Linked DNA regions of Homo sapiens: all the other regions are linked to region 1. Evidence: promoter capture Hi-C in 16 types of primary human blood cells and fetal thymus (Javierre and others, 2016). All regions are on one chromosome and are shown on one strand. Each heading gives the region's core, a stretch centred on a gene start or on the middle of the fragment in contact. The rest is flanking DNA. Distances are from core to core; before and after follow the strand shown.

Evidence for each region. Contacts are between HindIII fragments. The CHiCAGO score rates a contact against its expected background, and 5 or more counts as called.
Region 2: the fragment with the promoter of NAA20 here is called in contact with the fragment with the promoter of NAPB in region 1 in 1 of 17 cell types (non-activated CD4 T cells); the score reaches 5.0 in non-activated CD4 T cells.
Region 3: a contact is called between a fragment that was not itself captured here and the fragment with the promoter of NAPB in region 1, in 1 of 17 cell types (non-activated CD4 T cells). The highest score is 10.3, in non-activated CD4 T cells.
Region 4: a contact is called between a fragment that was not itself captured here and the fragment with the promoter of NAPB in region 1, in 1 of 17 cell types (non-activated CD4 T cells). The highest score is 5.3, in non-activated CD4 T cells.
Region 5: a fragment that was not itself captured here is called in contact with the fragment with the promoter of NAPB in region 1 in 1 of 17 cell types (naive CD4 T cells); the score reaches 6.4 in naive CD4 T cells.
Region 6: a contact is called between a fragment that was not itself captured here and the fragment with the promoter of NAPB in region 1, in 1 of 17 cell types (total CD4 T cells). The highest score is 6.7, in total CD4 T cells.

The regions. Positions count from the first base shown.
Region 1 is chr20:23,420,190-23,422,889 of GRCh38, reverse strand. It overlaps NAPB (NSF attachment protein beta), which reads left to right and starts at 1,402. Exons shown (of 11, transcript NM_022080.3): 1 at 1,402-1,585. The coding sequence starts at 1,488. RefSeq lists an enhancer at 1,024-1,213 and silencers at 1,464-1,553, 2,184-2,413. The HindIII fragment of the contact is 2,788 bases long and covers 603-2,700 here.
Region 2 is chr20:20,016,092-20,018,791 of GRCh38, reverse strand. It overlaps NAA20 (N-alpha-acetyltransferase 20, NatB catalytic subunit), which reads right to left and starts at 1,430. Exons shown (of 6, transcript NM_016100.5): 1 at 1,343-1,430. The coding sequence starts at 1,395. RefSeq lists enhancers at 1-167, 629-1,129, 1,744-1,923 and silencers at 1,184-1,303, 1,354-1,423. The HindIII fragment of the contact is 8,583 bases long and covers 1-2,700 here.
Region 3 is chr20:18,569,715-18,572,414 of GRCh38, reverse strand. No RefSeq gene overlaps it. Among named protein-coding and RNA genes, the nearest start is that of SMIM26, 3.6 kb to the right of the region's middle. The HindIII fragment of the contact is 2,280 bases long and covers 180-2,459 here.
Region 4 is chr20:20,038,194-20,040,893 of GRCh38, reverse strand. CRNKL1 (crooked neck pre-mRNA splicing factor 1) reads left to right here. Exons shown (of 14, transcript NM_001278628.2): 10 at 128-208; 11 at 1,046-1,285; 12 at 2,444-2,545. Among named protein-coding and RNA genes, the nearest start is that of CRNKL1, 13 kb to the left of the region's middle. The HindIII fragment of the contact is 595 bases long and covers 1,141-1,735 here.
Region 5 is chr20:18,504,490-18,507,189 of GRCh38, reverse strand. It overlaps the pseudogene RPS19P1. Among named protein-coding and RNA genes, the nearest start is that of SEC23B, 2.1 kb to the left of the region's middle. The HindIII fragment of the contact is 2,905 bases long and covers 1-2,700 here.
Region 6 is chr20:20,060,044-20,062,743 of GRCh38, reverse strand. All of the region lies in intron 2 of CFAP61 (cilia and flagella associated protein 61), which reads right to left. Among named protein-coding and RNA genes, the nearest start is that of CFAP61, 8.9 kb to the right of the region's middle. The HindIII fragment of the contact is 6,753 bases long and covers 1-2,700 here.

The sequences.
Region 1 (2,700 bases), core at 153-2,652:
GTGCATTTTCTAGACCCCAGCTGCAAGAGACCTTGATACCAAAACCCAGTGGCCTAGGAATCAGTATTTCTTAAATATCCATTAGAGCTTCTGCATCGAACCACGTTAGGGAACAACTGATTTAATCAACACACTGATTTACTTAGGAGCTTTTGACTTAGCCTCACTCCATTAAGCCCCCATAGACTGCTCTGCTTTCCAAATGCTTATGTTCACTTTTTACAGTTTTTCTCTGGTCTCCCCTGCATTTACGGTCACCTCCAATTTCCCGCCTCCTTCTCTCTCCAAAAACACACAGCTCAGCTTTTCAAAGTTAGAATAATGCATGTAGTAATCGTAAATAAACTGCACGAAGAGCTGAGATTTCTTTCTATCTCTACGGAGTCCTGAAATGTATGAACTCTGTGACATGTGCTTTAGTCAACTTTCTTTCTAGGAGTTTGGCCCCTCTTGCCTTGCCCTCTACAGACAGTCTTCATTTTCTAAAATTTTGCATGCCAGTGCCCAGAGTGTATTTATTAACAGTTTGAAACTGTCATAAATCTCACTTGGCAGTGATTTTCTTATTAGTTTCAGCATCTCTGCCTTAGCACTGCCAAGCTTGAATGGTCTAGACATTGTCTTCAAAAATAACTCCCTCTGGGACAGGCCTGAAAGTCTCTGGCACAGGATCCCATCTATCTATGGATACTTCTCCTAGGAGATTAGAAGTCTTCCTGGCAGGCAAACATTTTGTCCCTGGAGATCCATCCACTATGGCCAGTATTATGTAAAGGATAAGAGTTCAATGGTTCACATCCATTGAATATAATTCAGTCAACAAAAGAGTGGATTATGCATATATTGCATATATGCAACTCATTTATAACCAAGGAAGAGAGGACCAACAGAAAGTTACAGTTTGGGGAGATTTAAAAATAACTGAACTTATATTGGGGACGTCTTGCTCTTGGAGATAAAAATGGCTCTTATTGCCAGCTGTTGCTCGTTTTTTGGTGGGCGGTATCAAGCATGTGATGCTTTGGTGGCTACACCAGATTCTCTTTTGCAGAACTTGCATGAAGGGTGTGGGTTCCATCCAATCTGTTATCCCCTGTTCCTTCATCCATCCCATTGCCATGCGAGTCTTACTGAGGAGGTGATCTTTACTAGAGGCCACGGATCATTTTTCCATTTCTGCATACATACAAAATTAAAGTTCACCTTGGCCCAGGACCCCTTTGGGGGGGTCACGCCCCCTGCGCCGACGTCCTGGGAGCTAGCGGTGCGCAAGCTCGGCTCACACACACCCCGCCCCGGGGCCTCCTGGGAACTGTAGTAGGCGGCTCGCGAATCCCCGCCGCCATGACAGGACCCGGACTACAGCTCCCGAAAGGCCTCGCGCGTCGCGCCTGCGCCTGCGTCCCTGCGGCCGCCAGAGGGAGGGTTAAGGCGCCTGGGCGCACAGCGAGCCGGCTGAGGGGGCTGTGGCGGCCGCGGCGGGCGACATGGACAACGCGGGGAAGGAGCGTGAGGCAGTACAGCTGATGGCGGAGGCCGAGAAGCGAGTCAAGGCCTCCCACTCCTTCCTCCGAGGGCTGTTTGGGTGAGCGCCAGACCGTGCGTGCCCTGGGGGGGGGGGGTCTCCGTACTTGGCCCCCTTCCTTTCAGGCTGACCCCCCGAGTCCCCCACGCAACCTCTGGGGCCCTCAGACCACGTCTAGGGGCCCTCAGCCTGCAGGCGCCCTCCAGAAATCCTGTAGGGTCCCCCAGCGCCCCCTGGAGCCCCCAGGACGCCCAGGGGCCCTCAGTCCGCACGCGCCCTCCAGAGACCCCACAGGCCCCCCCAGGGTCCCTGGAAACCCCGCATCCTCCCAGGGGCTCTCAGCCCCCACGCGCACTTTAGAGACCCCCTAGGGCCGGCAGAACTCCCCAGGGTTCCTCAGCCCCCACACGCTCTCCGGATCCCCTAACACGCCCCCTTAGAATCCCCAGAGTCTCACAGGGACCCTCAGCCCCCACGCGCCTTTCAGAGAACCCCTAGGACCCCCAGAGCTCCCCAAGCGCCCCACGAAGCCCCTAGAACACTCTGGGGGGGGGGCTGTCAGCCTCACGCGCCCTCTGGAGACCCCAGATCGCCCCCCTCGCCCTGGCCCGGGTTGGTGCGGGGGTCCCACGACCTAGAAGGTCAGCGGCTCCCTGAGGCCCGCGGGCGCGGTAGCTCGGGGCGCGCGTGGGGCCCCCTTCTCAGTGCGTAGCGAGTCGTATTGGTGCATTTCGCCACGCTGAAGCCCGTATCGCTCCTGAGACCGGTCCGGGTGAGGCGCGCCGGGGTGGAGCCGGAGGGGTGGGTGCGGGGGCCGCCCCCGGCGCCTGGAACGCGCACCTGGGGGCGTCCCGCCTGCAGGTGGGCCCCGCCGGGGAGGGGGCGGTCCGGCGAGGGATCCAGAGCTGGTGTGCTTGTTGGCCTCTCTCCAGGGGCCTTGCGCCGAGTACACCTTTAGTAAATACTTGACTAATGAACGAATATATTTTCTCAGCATAGTATTTTTCCTTCTCCGGAGATTGATTGATAGCCAGAGCCTCCTGTTTGATTAACGGTAACGCTGCTGCTGTTTAAGTCAGGCGTCCTTTGGGAATCCCTTTAATTTCCTGTAATTCTTCCGTGCTCTCCTAAGGAGGATTTTAAATTCCAACCTCTCAAAAAGCAGAGCCCGCACT
Region 2 (2,700 bases), core at 181-2,680, 3.4 Mb after region 1:
GTGAGGATTAACTGGATTATTACGTGGGCACTCAGAACAATGCAGGGAACAGTGAGTTCAACACAAGTCACCGTAGCTACCAGACTGGCCCAACAGAAAATTCTTTCCACAGGATCAAGTCTAAACCCCTCCTGTTTCACCCATTTCTTCCTGACTGCTCAGTGGCAGAAACCAGCCACTAGATTCGCACTGATCCCAGTTGTCTGACCGCACTTCAAGTTTCCCCATTTTCATGCCCCGCTCCTTCTCCGGAACTTCCGTCTTCCTCACTTACCAATGTGTTATCCATCTTCAAGGCTCACCCCCTCTTTGAAATGTTCCCAGCCATCTTATCCCATAGTTCTTTCCATCTTCCTGACACTTGAATCGGAACCACTTTGTCCTTAGTTTTCACATACCGCCCTGTTGTTTTTTTAAAGTGGATCCAGGACTGATAGATGGGAAGGAAGGAGAGATACCAGCGTAGCAAAATGTTAACTGCAGAATCCAGGAAAAGTGTCTATAAAAGCACATGGTGAAATTCCTCCAACTTTTCTAAATGTGTGGGAATCTTCATAATAAAATGTTTTCTTAAAAAAAAAAAATTGGTACCTGCAAATCAGAGGTCTGGCCTTAACTCGAATCCAAAGAAACTGCATCCAGGGCTCTGGGCACAGCGAGCCTCCCCTAAGATCTGCCGTGACTCCTCACAGAGGAAAGGTGTGTACACCGGGGTGCGCAGCTACAGTAACTAAACTTGCAAACACTAACCATGACTGAGACAGCATCTGCTGCAGGGGACGCAGTGATCAGTGTCATTTCATTTGGATACAATTTAACCACGGCCACCAGGTGGGCTTCACGATGTACACATCCCAACAGCTGCTGACCAGCTTCCGATCCTCGCAAGCCCCCTCTGCGGCCTGGCCGTCGGCGGTGCCCTCTGCCCAGAAGAGGCGCGGCCCGGCCACGAACCAGCAAGCAGTAGGGCAGGGCGAGAAGCCCAGGTCGTGGGCTCCAGGCCGCGTCTCCAGCTCGCCCCATCACCCCAGCGCCTCCTGACAGCGACCACGAGCGGAGGCCCGAGCGCTGCCCCAGAACCTGCCAGCTCGCAGGGTCCAGAGACAAAGTTTGAGCACCTCGGCCAAGGTCGCCAAGGCCGGCGTGCGTCGACTCCAGGCCCACCTCTCCCTGGACCCTGTGGCCCCAGGGAGGCGCCCACGTTGGCCGGCGGGGGGTGGTTCTCGCGGGTCCCCGTCCGGGCTTGGGGTCCGGCCGGGAAGGCGCGGCTGGGGCCGGAGCTGGCGGGGCCGGGAAGCGAGGCCCGGCCAAGAGCGGCTGGCCCTAGGCGCGTGTCACTCACATGTTGTTGAAGCGGAACAGGTCGTCGCAGGTAAAGGCCCGTAGCGTGGTCATCGCGCCGCCGCCGCTTCCGAAGACCGTTCGCCAAGACCCCGCGCCCGCCCTGCCGGAAGTCTCCCGGAGCGTGGCCGCCGCGGAACCGAGCGAGACGGGGTACTGCTTCCGGGCTACGAGTTGCTGGGCAACGACAGCAGCAAAGCAGCTTCCTCTGGCGGCCGGCGGCGGGAATTGCCAGGTCGCTCCTGTAAGGCCTCCGGGGCTGTGGCTGCCCAGAACCTCGGAACCCCTCCCAGGCAGCGGCTGCAGAAAGCAGGCGGCGACACCTGGGAAGGAAAGAAGCTGCTGGTGATGCGGAAACCCAAGCAGAAGAGCGGAGTTCGCAGCCACCCGGTGCTGCAGAGTAAATGAGGAATGGGAGAATTTATGACCCAGAATCCCTTGTCCCAGTGTTGCGAGTTGCAGATGTCATCTTAAAATGTCAATACCACGTTTAAAAACAAAAAGAAGGCCGGGCGCGGTGGCTCACGCCTGTAATCCCAACACTGGGAGGCCAAGGCGGGCAGATCACTTGAGTTCAGCAGTTCGAGACCAACCTGGCCAACATGGCGAAACCCCCTCTCTACTAAAAAAAAAAAAAAAAGGAAAGAAATAAAAATTAGCTGGGCGTGGTGGCACGCGCCTCTAATCCCAGCTACTTGGAGGCTGAGGCAGGAGAATCGCTTGAACCCAGGAGGCGGAGGTTGCAGTGAGCCGAGATCTCGCCACTGCACTCCAGCCTGGGCGACAGAGCTAGACTTGGTCTCAAAAATAAATAATAAATAAATAAAAGCAAAACGAAATGTAAAATTGATTTTGATAGTACGCTTTATTTTACCCATTTATTTTTCCTATTTGGGAAAAATATTTTTCCCTGACCCCACTTTATTATACCCGAAATATCATTTCAACATGTAACCAATCAATACTCAACATGTAATCAATCAATAAAAAAAGGAATGTGATATGTTACATTCTTTTTTGCAAAGACTTTGAAATCCGGTGTGTATTTTACATTTGCAGTGCATTTCAATCTGAGAGAGCAGCTGTCATCGGAAATGCTTGTTCTCTATTTAGATTTCATCAATGTATGGTTAAAAAGCAGATTCTCATATCCAAGCGGTTCCAAATATACTGTTTTCAAATCGCTGAACCAAACATCAGTTTTTAAATTTAAAGTAGTTAAAATTAAAAGTTAAAAATTCCTTTATTCAGACCAGACACAGTGGCTCACACCTGTAATCCCAGCTACTTGGGAGGCTGAGGTGGGAGGATCATTTGAGCCCGGGAGGTAGAGGTTGCTCTGAGACATGATTGCACCAC
Region 3 (2,700 bases), core at 70-2,569, 4.9 Mb after region 1:
GCTCACTTACTTGGCTTATCAACAAACTATGTTTGCATAGTTAAAACAGGGTAAATATTAATTATTGATTCATCAAAAATATGCAATAGTTTTATTGGTTAGTCAGTTGGAAAGGAGGATCAAATCCTCATTAATAAATCCCATACATGATTGATAAATTAAAGATATTAGTAAAAGCTTATTATTTAGAAATGTGGACGTAAATACCAAAAAAAAAAAAAAAAAAACCTAATAGTTGAAAGCAAGGAGGGATAAAGCAGGAACTGTTTTTTTGGTTACAAACTTTTGATCATTATTTAATTTTTTAATGCATTTGTTGCTTTGTTAAAAATATAAAAATTAATTTCAAAAAAGTCATGCTGGCTAATACTGTAGAAACCAATTGGAGGGGACTCCAAGTAGAGACAAAGAGAGTAGGAAGTTGAGGCTACATAAGCAAAGAGGATGGAGGATTTAAGTAAGGTAGTGGTAAAGGGAATGGGAAGGTGGGAATGGAGTGGAATATTTGCAGTAGAAATGATGGGACCTGGTGGCTGGAGGAAGGAGAAGGAACAAGAAGAGGGAGAAGTCTAGAATGATAGGTTCCTAATTTGAGGAACTGAGTACTCTCTGAGAAAGAGAACGGAAGGAAGAGCAGCCTTGTGGGTGATGACAGCAATTTAAGTTATGGACAAAGCTGAGGTGGCTAGATATCCAAGTGGCAATGCTAGATGGACATGGATCTTGAGTTCAGGAGAACGCTGGGCTGAAATAAGAGAATAAATTAGATCTAGCAAAGAAACCCAGCCAAGTCCCAAGGAAAGCTAACCCAAATGTCCCCTTAAGCCCCACAAGTGTATGAATCCTGGGTAGACTGCCAGGTGAGAGTAGAAGTTCAGCTGTTTATCCTCGGTGTGCTCTATTAACAACTCTCACCTGCCAAGTGCCACAGCCCCTCAGCCCTTGCCCTTTGTTTCTCTGGAAGCCCTCATGTTAGGAAATGTCTTCCAAAACGTTCATGCTACTGTTCCCATTTCTCCCATACTTCTGATTCACTTGCTTCTCACCTTCCCCATCTACTGTCGTACACTGCTTCTCATTCATCAGTTTGATGCCAACCAAGATGGTCCACTGGAATACACAGCCAATTGGCACGAATCCATGCTTGACCTGATATCCCTTGGGAAGCTGAGTCTCTGCTACCAGCATCTGGAGCTGTTACTTGTGATTTTGGAATCCTTGTCACTAAGGCTGACTGCACCACAGCACTGCTCAGGCCACCCATAATGGTGGAACTGACACCAATGAGAAATCAAGATGAGGGTCTGAAGGTCATAGTACTGTAGAGGAACCCTGAAATGCCCAATTCCTGTCCTACCACACATCACATCTCTACTCACAGGGTCCCAACAGCTATGAACAGGAAAACACTACCTAAATGAGAAACAAATGCCACTTTATTCATAACTGAGGCAGTACTCTATAATCCATAGGCAGGGATCTGATAAAAACTGAACTGAGTCTCTCGCAAGGGTGGAAGCCAAAGACCAGGTTGAGGAGAGGCTGGTCAGACTTTGGCACTGCACATGGGAGGTAGTATCTTCTTGGGATATTTGTATTACTCCAGAAAGGTGAGAAAAGCAGCTGGTGTGCAATAAGAAAAGCAAGGCCAAGAGCCCAGGCAGGCTCAACAAGTGGCTGCCTGCATTCTGGTCCCAGTGTCAGGCCTTCTGAAGACAACATACTGCTTTTTTTTTTTTTTTTTGAGATGGAATCTCGCTGTCAACAGGCTGGAGTGCAGTGGTGCGATCTCAGCTCACTGCAACCTCCGCCTCCCAGATTCAAGCGATTCTCCTGCCTCAGCCTCCCAAGTAGCTGGGACTACAGGTGCGCGGTGCCATGCCCAGCTAATTTTTGTATTTTTAATAGAGACAGGGTTTCACCATGCTGGCCAAGACGGTCTCGATCTCTTGACCTTGTGATCCGCCCCTCGGCCTCCCAAAGTGCAGGGAGTACAGGCGTGAGCCACCGCTCCTGGCCCATACTCTCTGCTTTAATTCTGAGCTACCAATACACGTTTTTTATAAACACCCACTTTTGATTTAAGCTCACTTGTGTTTGTTGCCTGCAACCAAGAGACCACTGAGGAAACTGGTTCAGCATCAATCATGTCGTCCTGACTGCATTCCCAGCATTAGAATAGCACTGGCCACAGTTGGTGGGTAATCCACACTTGCTGAAGGAATGAGGGGTATGTGCACTGGTCCTAAAGAATAGGTCCAGTCTGTTTAATTCAGAAGTTACAATCAAATTTATATCATACTTACCCAGTACGCAGTAGTACCCAAAGGGCTACTGTGAATCCCAAAGTGAATATGGAGATTTGCTGAAACTAACCTTAAAGCGACCACTAAAGCTGTGCCTAATAGCAACATGAAAGAAATATAAATCTACATTAACTAGTTTCAGGAAATCAAGCTTATGGAAGCTCTATGTGAAATTTCACAGCAATCTTTCACTCATGCAAATACAGAGGAACACCTCTTGAAAATGCAGATAGTAGGCCGGGGACCGTGGCTCACACCTGTAATCCCAGCACTTTGGGAGGCTGAGGCAGGCGGATCACAAGGTCAGGAGATGGAGACCATCCTGGCTAACACGGTGAAACCCTGTCTCCACTGAAAACACAAAAAATTAGCCAGACATGGTGGCAGGCGCCTT
Region 4 (2,700 bases), core at 189-2,688, 3.4 Mb after region 1:
TTCCTCTTACTCTGAAGTTTTAGAGAAATCGAATTACCAATGGCTTTGGTTAATTTAAATTAATTTTAATTCAATTTAATTTGGATGAGGCTTTTAAGCTAGATATTTTTGTGCTTTTGTTTTCTAGTTCACATTTGCCAAAATGTGGATACTGTATGCACAGTTTGAAATACGACAGAAGAATCTGTCATTAGCCAGAAGAGCATTGGTAAGTAAAGAAAGGATCAAGATGTCTCATCAAGTTCTATGAGAAAGAAATTAAAATCTTGGTGCTTGGAAGTTGTACAGTTCCTACTTTAAAGAGTGACAGAAGTATTATACCTTTATAGCCTGGGACATGTTAGAAAACATGCGTCCTCTGTAAAAACACTGACTAATAATGCGTAAATTATTCTTATTACCTGGGGCAAATTAACATTCTGTTTCAATATTGGAAACTTCTATAGCTACCAGTTACTAAATCTTTCCACAGACTGGAATTAGTAATCTGATCCTGTGCAAACTTTTTGGTGTGTTAAATGCACTTTTAATTGTTCCACTTTTTTTTTCTTTTTTTTTTTTTTGTTTGTTTGGTTTTTTTTTGAGACAGGGTCTCGCTCTGTTCCCCAAGCTGGAATGCAGTAGCGCGATCTTGGCTCACTGCAACCTCTGCCTCCTGGGCGGAAATGATCCTCCCATGTTGGCCTCTCAGAATGCTGGGATTACAGGCATGAGCCACCATGCCTTGTCCTTTTTATTTATAGGAGGTTTTATGCATTTGACATCCCTATTCCCTAGGAGATCCTGAGAAACTTTCAAATCTTATTTTATTTAGTTGCCCAAACAATTCTGGAACACTGCCTCTTGCTGAGTGAATTAGAGGAGTTTCCTTCAGCCTTTTGTCAAGAACCAGTAAACATTGTGATACCACAGAGGGAAAGAATGGTAGGCCATGTTGACTTTGCAAGATTCTTCCTCAGCAGAGAACAGCCTCTAGGGCAGTGCAATAACTGCACAGATTAAATCCACTACAGTATCACAGTGGTCTGGTTATTTTATTTTCCAGGGAACTTCCATAGGCAAATGTCCAAAGAACAAATTATTTAAAGTTTACATAGAATTGGAGCTACAGCTTCGAGAATTTGACAGATGCCGGAAGCTTTATGAAAAGTTCCTGGAATTTGGACCTGAAAATTGTACCTCATGGATTAAATTCGCTGAATTAGAGACAATCCTTGGTGATATTGACAGAGCACGGGCAATCTATGAATTAGCCATCAGTCAGCCACGTTTAGACATGCCAGAGGTGAGCATCTCAAGTCAAATATAATTTTGTTTGAGATACGTGTTTAGTCTTACTTTAGATGACCATCTAAATGTGGGTGTATTTTAGAGTATAACGATGATCTAACTAACTTAGTCTCTTCTACTCAGATTAGGCTTGTACGTGGAAAGGTGGCTGTGGGGGACAGGGGAAGTAGCCCTCTCATTAGATACCAGAGCAGTAGACATCCAGGATGATGCCCAGGATGAACTGGGATATCATGGGGGTGGGTGACGCCCCTTCTGCAGCAGGAAAGCCTAAAGGGGCTGGGGAAGAGGCCAGGCAAGGAAGAAGCCAGCAGGCTGGCCCACCCGGAGAACGAGGGGGATGGAGGTAGGAACTGCACATCCCTGTATTCTCTAAACCAGGATGTCCTTGCAACTTCTGTTGTCACTGTCCTGAAAGTCCTCGCCTGCCTTCAGTAGTTAAGCTTGACCCACAAGGTAGCACCAAACCACAGCTAGGAAAGATTTGAATCTCACATGAGTCGTAGAACTCACCCAGCCGTTTTGTTAATCTCATGCACTAACATGACCCTGCATTTAATGGTTTGGCCCCCTGATTGCATTAATTAAGGCAGGGCTTTGGGTATCACTGAGTTCATCAGTTGTCCTCGGCTCCTCCACCAGACTGCCAGCTTTCAGGTGTCCATGCCACGGTTTATTCATCCTTATTCCCTGCCAGGCTGCACCGAGCCAGTGCGCACCTGTTCAGTGAATGCTTGTTGCACTGAACTCTCATAATAACAAGGAATGTACAGTAGAGGTAAGAACATGCATACTGGCTAACCTGGGCCTGTTTTCTCTCTGGACGCTCAATTGCGTGTGGCTAGAATATGGAGTACCTGGGAGATGCTTGGCAAGTTTCTCAGCTCTTGATAAGTCAAGCATTTGAAAAACTTCCAAAGAGAATCTCTAAGACTGAATCCAAGGCCCTTTTTCTGTAATCTGGAATTCTAGCCAAGTTTTGGCCAGCTTATAGATACCAATGTTATTTATCTTATCCACATGTGTTCTTTAGTTGTTCAGTAAAAATCCTATGTTCCTAGATGTAGGTTAGAGTGATACTTCAGCTGTGCTTTGGATGGGGGCATGCTGCTTTGTAAATGTCAAGACTGACCCATTTACTTTTCTTCCTTAGGTGCTTTGGAAATCATATATTGATTTTGAAATTGAGCAGGAAGAAACAGAAAGAACACGAAACCTTTACCGGCGGTTGCTTCAACGGACGCAGCATGTCAAGGTATCCTTGCTTTGTAGATGATCTTTCATTTTGCTTGAATCAGCAGTCCAGAAGAAAATGATATATTTCTGTATTTTAAGTGTTTGGGTTTTTGTTTTTTTTTTTTTTTTAATGACTTCCTTGCTTTTCAAGAGAAACGTGAGTCTCAGAGGACT
Region 5 (2,700 bases), core at 164-2,663, 4.9 Mb after region 1:
CCAACGTTTAGATTTAGGGGGTACACTGCGTATTTGTTACCTGGCTATGAGGTTTCGAATTCGAATGAGCTGGTCACCCAGATACTGAGCATAGTACCCAAGTTTTTCAGCCCCTCCCTGCCTCCCTCCCCACTCTAGTAGTCCCCAGCGTCTATTAATGTCACCTTTGTGTCCATGTGTGCCCAATGCTTAGCTCCCACTTTCAAGTGAGAACATGTATTTGGTTTTCTGCTTCTGCGTTAATTCTTTTAGGATCATGGCCTCCAGATGCATCCATGTTGCTGCAAAAGGCGCGATAGAACACAACTGTATAAAGCCACCACAACCATTTTTACACACGCTGACAAGTGGCAAACATGAACACATCATTACTGTGACTCAGAGTTGTAGTCTCTGTAGCATATAAAAATAAGCAAAACGATGTAAACATAAAATTATGCAAGAACATATCTAGGCATCCAAGAAGTATCCATTAATTAGCTCAATTTAATACTAAGTTTTAAGTTATCTACAGATCATAGAAATTATTAATAGTTTAAGGCACAAAGAAACAATTACTGTTAAATGTGAGAATGATTCAGTTTTGTTGAACAAATTCACATTTTTCAGGATCTTAAACAATGTAATGTTAATATTAGCTTATCAATAGTAAACTTTTATAAATTTAGGAAGTTCAGATTAATTATTCTCGGTAAGGAAACAAACTCAAAATGTACACATGTATAATACTTAACACTGAGAAAAGACATAGCTGGGATTTTTTTTAACCAAAACTTAATATTATTCGCCAAAGATTTGCCTTGATTATTTGAACCTGGATTCTTTCTGTACTAGCAATTTCTGTAAGAAAGATTGTTATAGGACCATCAGGTTCGATTGTCCATTGTGCGGTAACAGAAAGAATAGGAGTTGCAGCAGATAAAGAGTTCCATAATCAAGTGGCAGCCAAATGAGGAGACAAGAGCAATCCTCAAATCCACCTCCCCAAGAGATTAGAGATGGCATTTTTAAGAAGTCTGGAGGGGCAATGGGCTAAAGTGTGGGGATTTCTGATTGGTCAGGAAGTGAGAGGTGAAGTCATGGGACAGGGAGATGAAGAAACTTCATTCCAGTGTTGTTTCTTGGTGGAGGTCTTTATTTATTTATTTAAAAAAATTTTTTTTTTGTAAAGCAGGGTCTCACTTTGTTGCCCAGGCTAGTCTCAAACTCCGGGCTTCAGGCGATCCTCTCACCTTGGCCTCCCAAAGTGCTAAGATTACAGGCGTGAGCCACTGTGCCCTTCCTGGTGGGGATCCCTAGACAGTTTGGCATCAGCTGTTTTGTGGGAATTCAGGATCTGAAAAATACCTTAAGCAATTCCTGGGTACAAAGAGCTAGTGTCAGAGATTCTGTGGATAGGAGCAATCAGGGAGTAGGTGATCAGTGTGCTGCAAGGCTTTTGGTTAGTTAGCAGCTGCAGGGAAGTGAATTGAAGGGCACCAATGCACCCTGGTCAGTGCCTAACTAACCTGCCTAAAGGCTGGCTTGTAATCTTGTTAACCCTGTCAGGATGGTTTCAGCATTTTTAAGAAATTTTGCATGCATAAGTTTAATTTACTTATTTTCTGGAATTTTAGAAATAATTGATTTACATGTGTTTGTTTCCATAAGTGAATTATAACAGAGCTCCTTTAAGACATGAAATAATATAACTTATTAAAACTTTACAAAGGTAGTAAGATTTTTTTACTCCCACAACAAGAGGGGAAGGCCTTTGTTGATTACAGCCGGGAAGACACATAGACACATAGCATATAGCTTTGGTTCTGCAACTTTGGCCACAGGTCGAAAGTAAATTCAGAAACATAAAAATTCAGTGGACTAGATAACAAAAAGCTGTTCTCCTTCCCAATGGGCATGGAAGTCTTAACTGATTTGAACTCATAAGTAGACAAAAAGGCAAACAAACAAAAAGACTAACAAACCAGATTTTTCATCATCTCTTATCCAAAAGAGAATAGATCTCTAAAAACTATTAATTCACTTAAAGAGATCACCAAATGTTCAGAATGTAAAACCTAGTTCCTAATTTTTTTTTTTTTTTCTGAATGAGGCAATGTATTAACCCAGCATGGTTTGTTCCAATGCTTCTTGTTGGCAGCTGCCACCTGTCCGGCAATTCTGCCCAGATCTCTCTGTCCCTGAGGTGTCAGTTTGCGGCCCCCATCTTGGTCCTTTTCCACCATTTTCAGCCCCTCCAGGGCTTGGAGGACCCGGCGGAGGACACTCTTGAAGCCTCGGCCGAAGTGGCTGGGCATGACGCCGTTTCTCTGACGTCCCCATAGATCTTGGTCATGGAGCCAACCCCAGCGCCACCCTGGAGGTACAGGTGCCGCGCTGTGGAACCGGCTCGTGTGTAGAACCAGTTCTCAACGTAGGGAGGAAGCTCTTTGTGCTTGGCCAGCTTGACGGTGTCCACCCATTCGGGGACTTTCAGCTTCCCGGACTTTTTGAGAAAGGCTGCCAGAGCTCTGACGAAGTCCCGCTGGTTCACGTGGTTTACAGGAACTCCAGGCATCGTGCGGCTTCCGCGCTGCCAGCCAGGGGAAAGGGAGCAACGGGGTTTCCCGCGAGTTCCTAATTGGTGTCGCCATTCATGGGGAAAAATCCGCCAGCTGTGGGCGAATCAGAAACAAAACCCAAAATCAGTAAGGAGGAGAA
Region 6 (2,700 bases), core at 33-2,532, 3.4 Mb after region 1:
TAGTCACGAGGGATTTAGTTAAAGGATTGTGGATCTATAATGCCCTTTTATTACCTGCTTAACCTCAGCAACATTTGTGATTATGTCCTTTTCACATTACTTTGAAAGTTTTTCTTTTTTTCCTGATTAATCTTGTCAGATTTTTTTTTTCTTTAGGCTTTTTAAAGAACAAACTTTTGGCTTTGTTTATCCTCTACCAGATGCTTGTTTCCTGTTTCATTAATATGCGCTCTTGTCCTTTATTTTCTGTTTTCCTTGAGTTGATTCGACTGTTCTTGCTCTTAGAGGTAAACTCTGAACTTTATTTCAGGCCTTTCTTCTCTTCTGTTATAAGCATTTAAGGTTATAAGTTCCCTCTAAGACCTGCTATTTTGTTCAACTATTTCTGCATAACAGATTATCCCAAATTTAGTGGCTACTCTGTTTTATTTGCTCATGATTCTATGGGTGAGAGATTCAGACAGGGTACAGTAGGGGTATCTGTTGGGGCAAGAACCTCCAAGACGGTTTTTTTCCCTCATGTGTCTTGTGCCTCAGTGAGGGTGGCCCAAAGGGGCTGGGGTGTGCCTGGAAGAGTGACATGGGGCCTTCCTTCTTGCTGGAGGCTGGGCTCCTCAATTCTCCTCCATGTAGGCACACACTTCTCTCTTACGATATGGCCTCTCTGGGTGGTATGTCCAGTAGAGTAGCCAGACTTTTTACATGGTAGTGCAAGGCTCCCAAGATCACAAAACTGAAAGCTCCCAGCAAAGGCTCGAACTAGGGTGAGGCCAGAGGGACCCAGGGTTCAAAAATGGAAGGAGGTGTTCACTCTCAGGTTCATGCAGGGGCCCTAGCTGGGAGTGAGTACCCAGGATACCCTGCGTGCCTCTCCTGGGCCAGCCCTGCTGCCAGGCCATCTTAACGCTTGGGCCTGGGACCAGGACAGCCCCACTTCCATTACATTCTGTCAGGGGAATCACAGGCTCAACAAAGATAGAAAACATGGGGACTACAGCAGGGAGAATGGCACAAAAAGGCATGGGGAACACAGGGAGGCGGGAGAGTCTCCAGTGCTCTACCTGTGATTTTCACTTTTATCTATTTTAGAACTGTGTTGTTAGAAGCATATAAGTTTAAAGCTGTCATAGCTCTCCCAACAACAGTTTTATCATTATATAGTGACCCTCTTTATCTGTAGGGAGCTTTTTGTCCTGAACTATACACTGTCTGCTGTTGATATAGCAATACTAGCCCTTATTTTGGGTGAGATTTTGGGTGGCATATCTTTTTTCCTGATACTTTGACTTTAAATATTTCTGTGACTTTATATATGAGGTATGTCTCACAAATAGAATATGACTGTTTTGTTTTGAGCCAATCTGCCATTCTTAATCTTTTAATGGAAGATTTTTGTCCAGATGCATTTATTATGATTGCTGATATAGTAAAATTTATTTTCTTATTCTGTAATTTTAATACATTCTATGCTTTTTGTTTCTTTTTTCCTCCTCCTGTCTTGTCCTCTTTTAGATTCAGGGTTCATTTTAAATTTCTCATTCCATTTTTCCCTCTATAGATCAGAAGTTATCATCTCTACACCTGTTCTTTTAATGATGATCTTAACCATGTTAATATATATTCCTAACAGTCTTTATTATCTGTTCCAGTTATCAACTGATGTGTAATAAACCACCCCAAACCTCAGTGGCTTTAAGTAGCAATTATTATCTCTCATGGTTCTGTGGGCTGCCTGGGTTGAACTAAGCAGTTTTTGCACGGTATCTCAGGCTATCAAATGGCAGCAGTGGCTAAAGCCATCTGAAGACTCAGTGTCTAAGACGGCTTACTTGCATGGTTGGCAGCTGGTGGCAGTTGCTAGCGGGGAGCTCAGCAGAGGCTGTCAAATGAAGCACCCACAGGGAAACATGTGACTGGAGCTTTCATCAGTGTGGCACTGGGTTCTGAGAAGGAGCACTTCCGGAGACCCAGTGGAAGTTGCAAGACTTCTTATGACTTAGACTTGAAGTCAAATAGAGTCTCACTTCTGCTGCTTTCCATTGGCTGCATAAGGCGAGCCATGATTCTTTGTGAGAACAGACTACACAAAGGCGTAAGTGACAGGATGTGTGGCTCATTGGAGCCAGGGGAGCCTGTTTGCACACCACTTACCACACCCTCCATCTTAAATAAAACCTGAAGGATTCTTTCATTCTAATCATGCTCCTCCCAATTTATATAATGTTTTTGTCCTGAATCTTAGTTTTAACATATGGTTTATACCTCACAAATCAGTCATTATCAATATTATTGTTTTATGCAAGTCATACTTTTTCTTAGATTTACCTATATATTTTCCATATTTTTGTTGACATTCCTTCTTGTGTTTTGAGCTTTCCAGCTGAGGTATTCTCTGTTCCTCCAAAAACATATTCTGAGGAATTTCCTCCATTCAGAGTTTATTGGCAAATGACTTAGGTTTTTGTTTGTCAGAAAATGCATTTATTTTCTCCCAGGTCCCCTAGGAATTGTTTCACTGGGTGAAACAATGTCACAATTCTAAATTGATGTTATTTTTCTCTCCACTATTGAAGATATTCTACTATCTTCTGACTACTATTGTGGCTCCTAAGAAATCTATTAGTCTAATCTTTAGTTCTTTGCAGGTAACTTGGTTTTTTTTTTTTCCCCCTCTGTTATTTTTCAGATCTTTTTAACTGG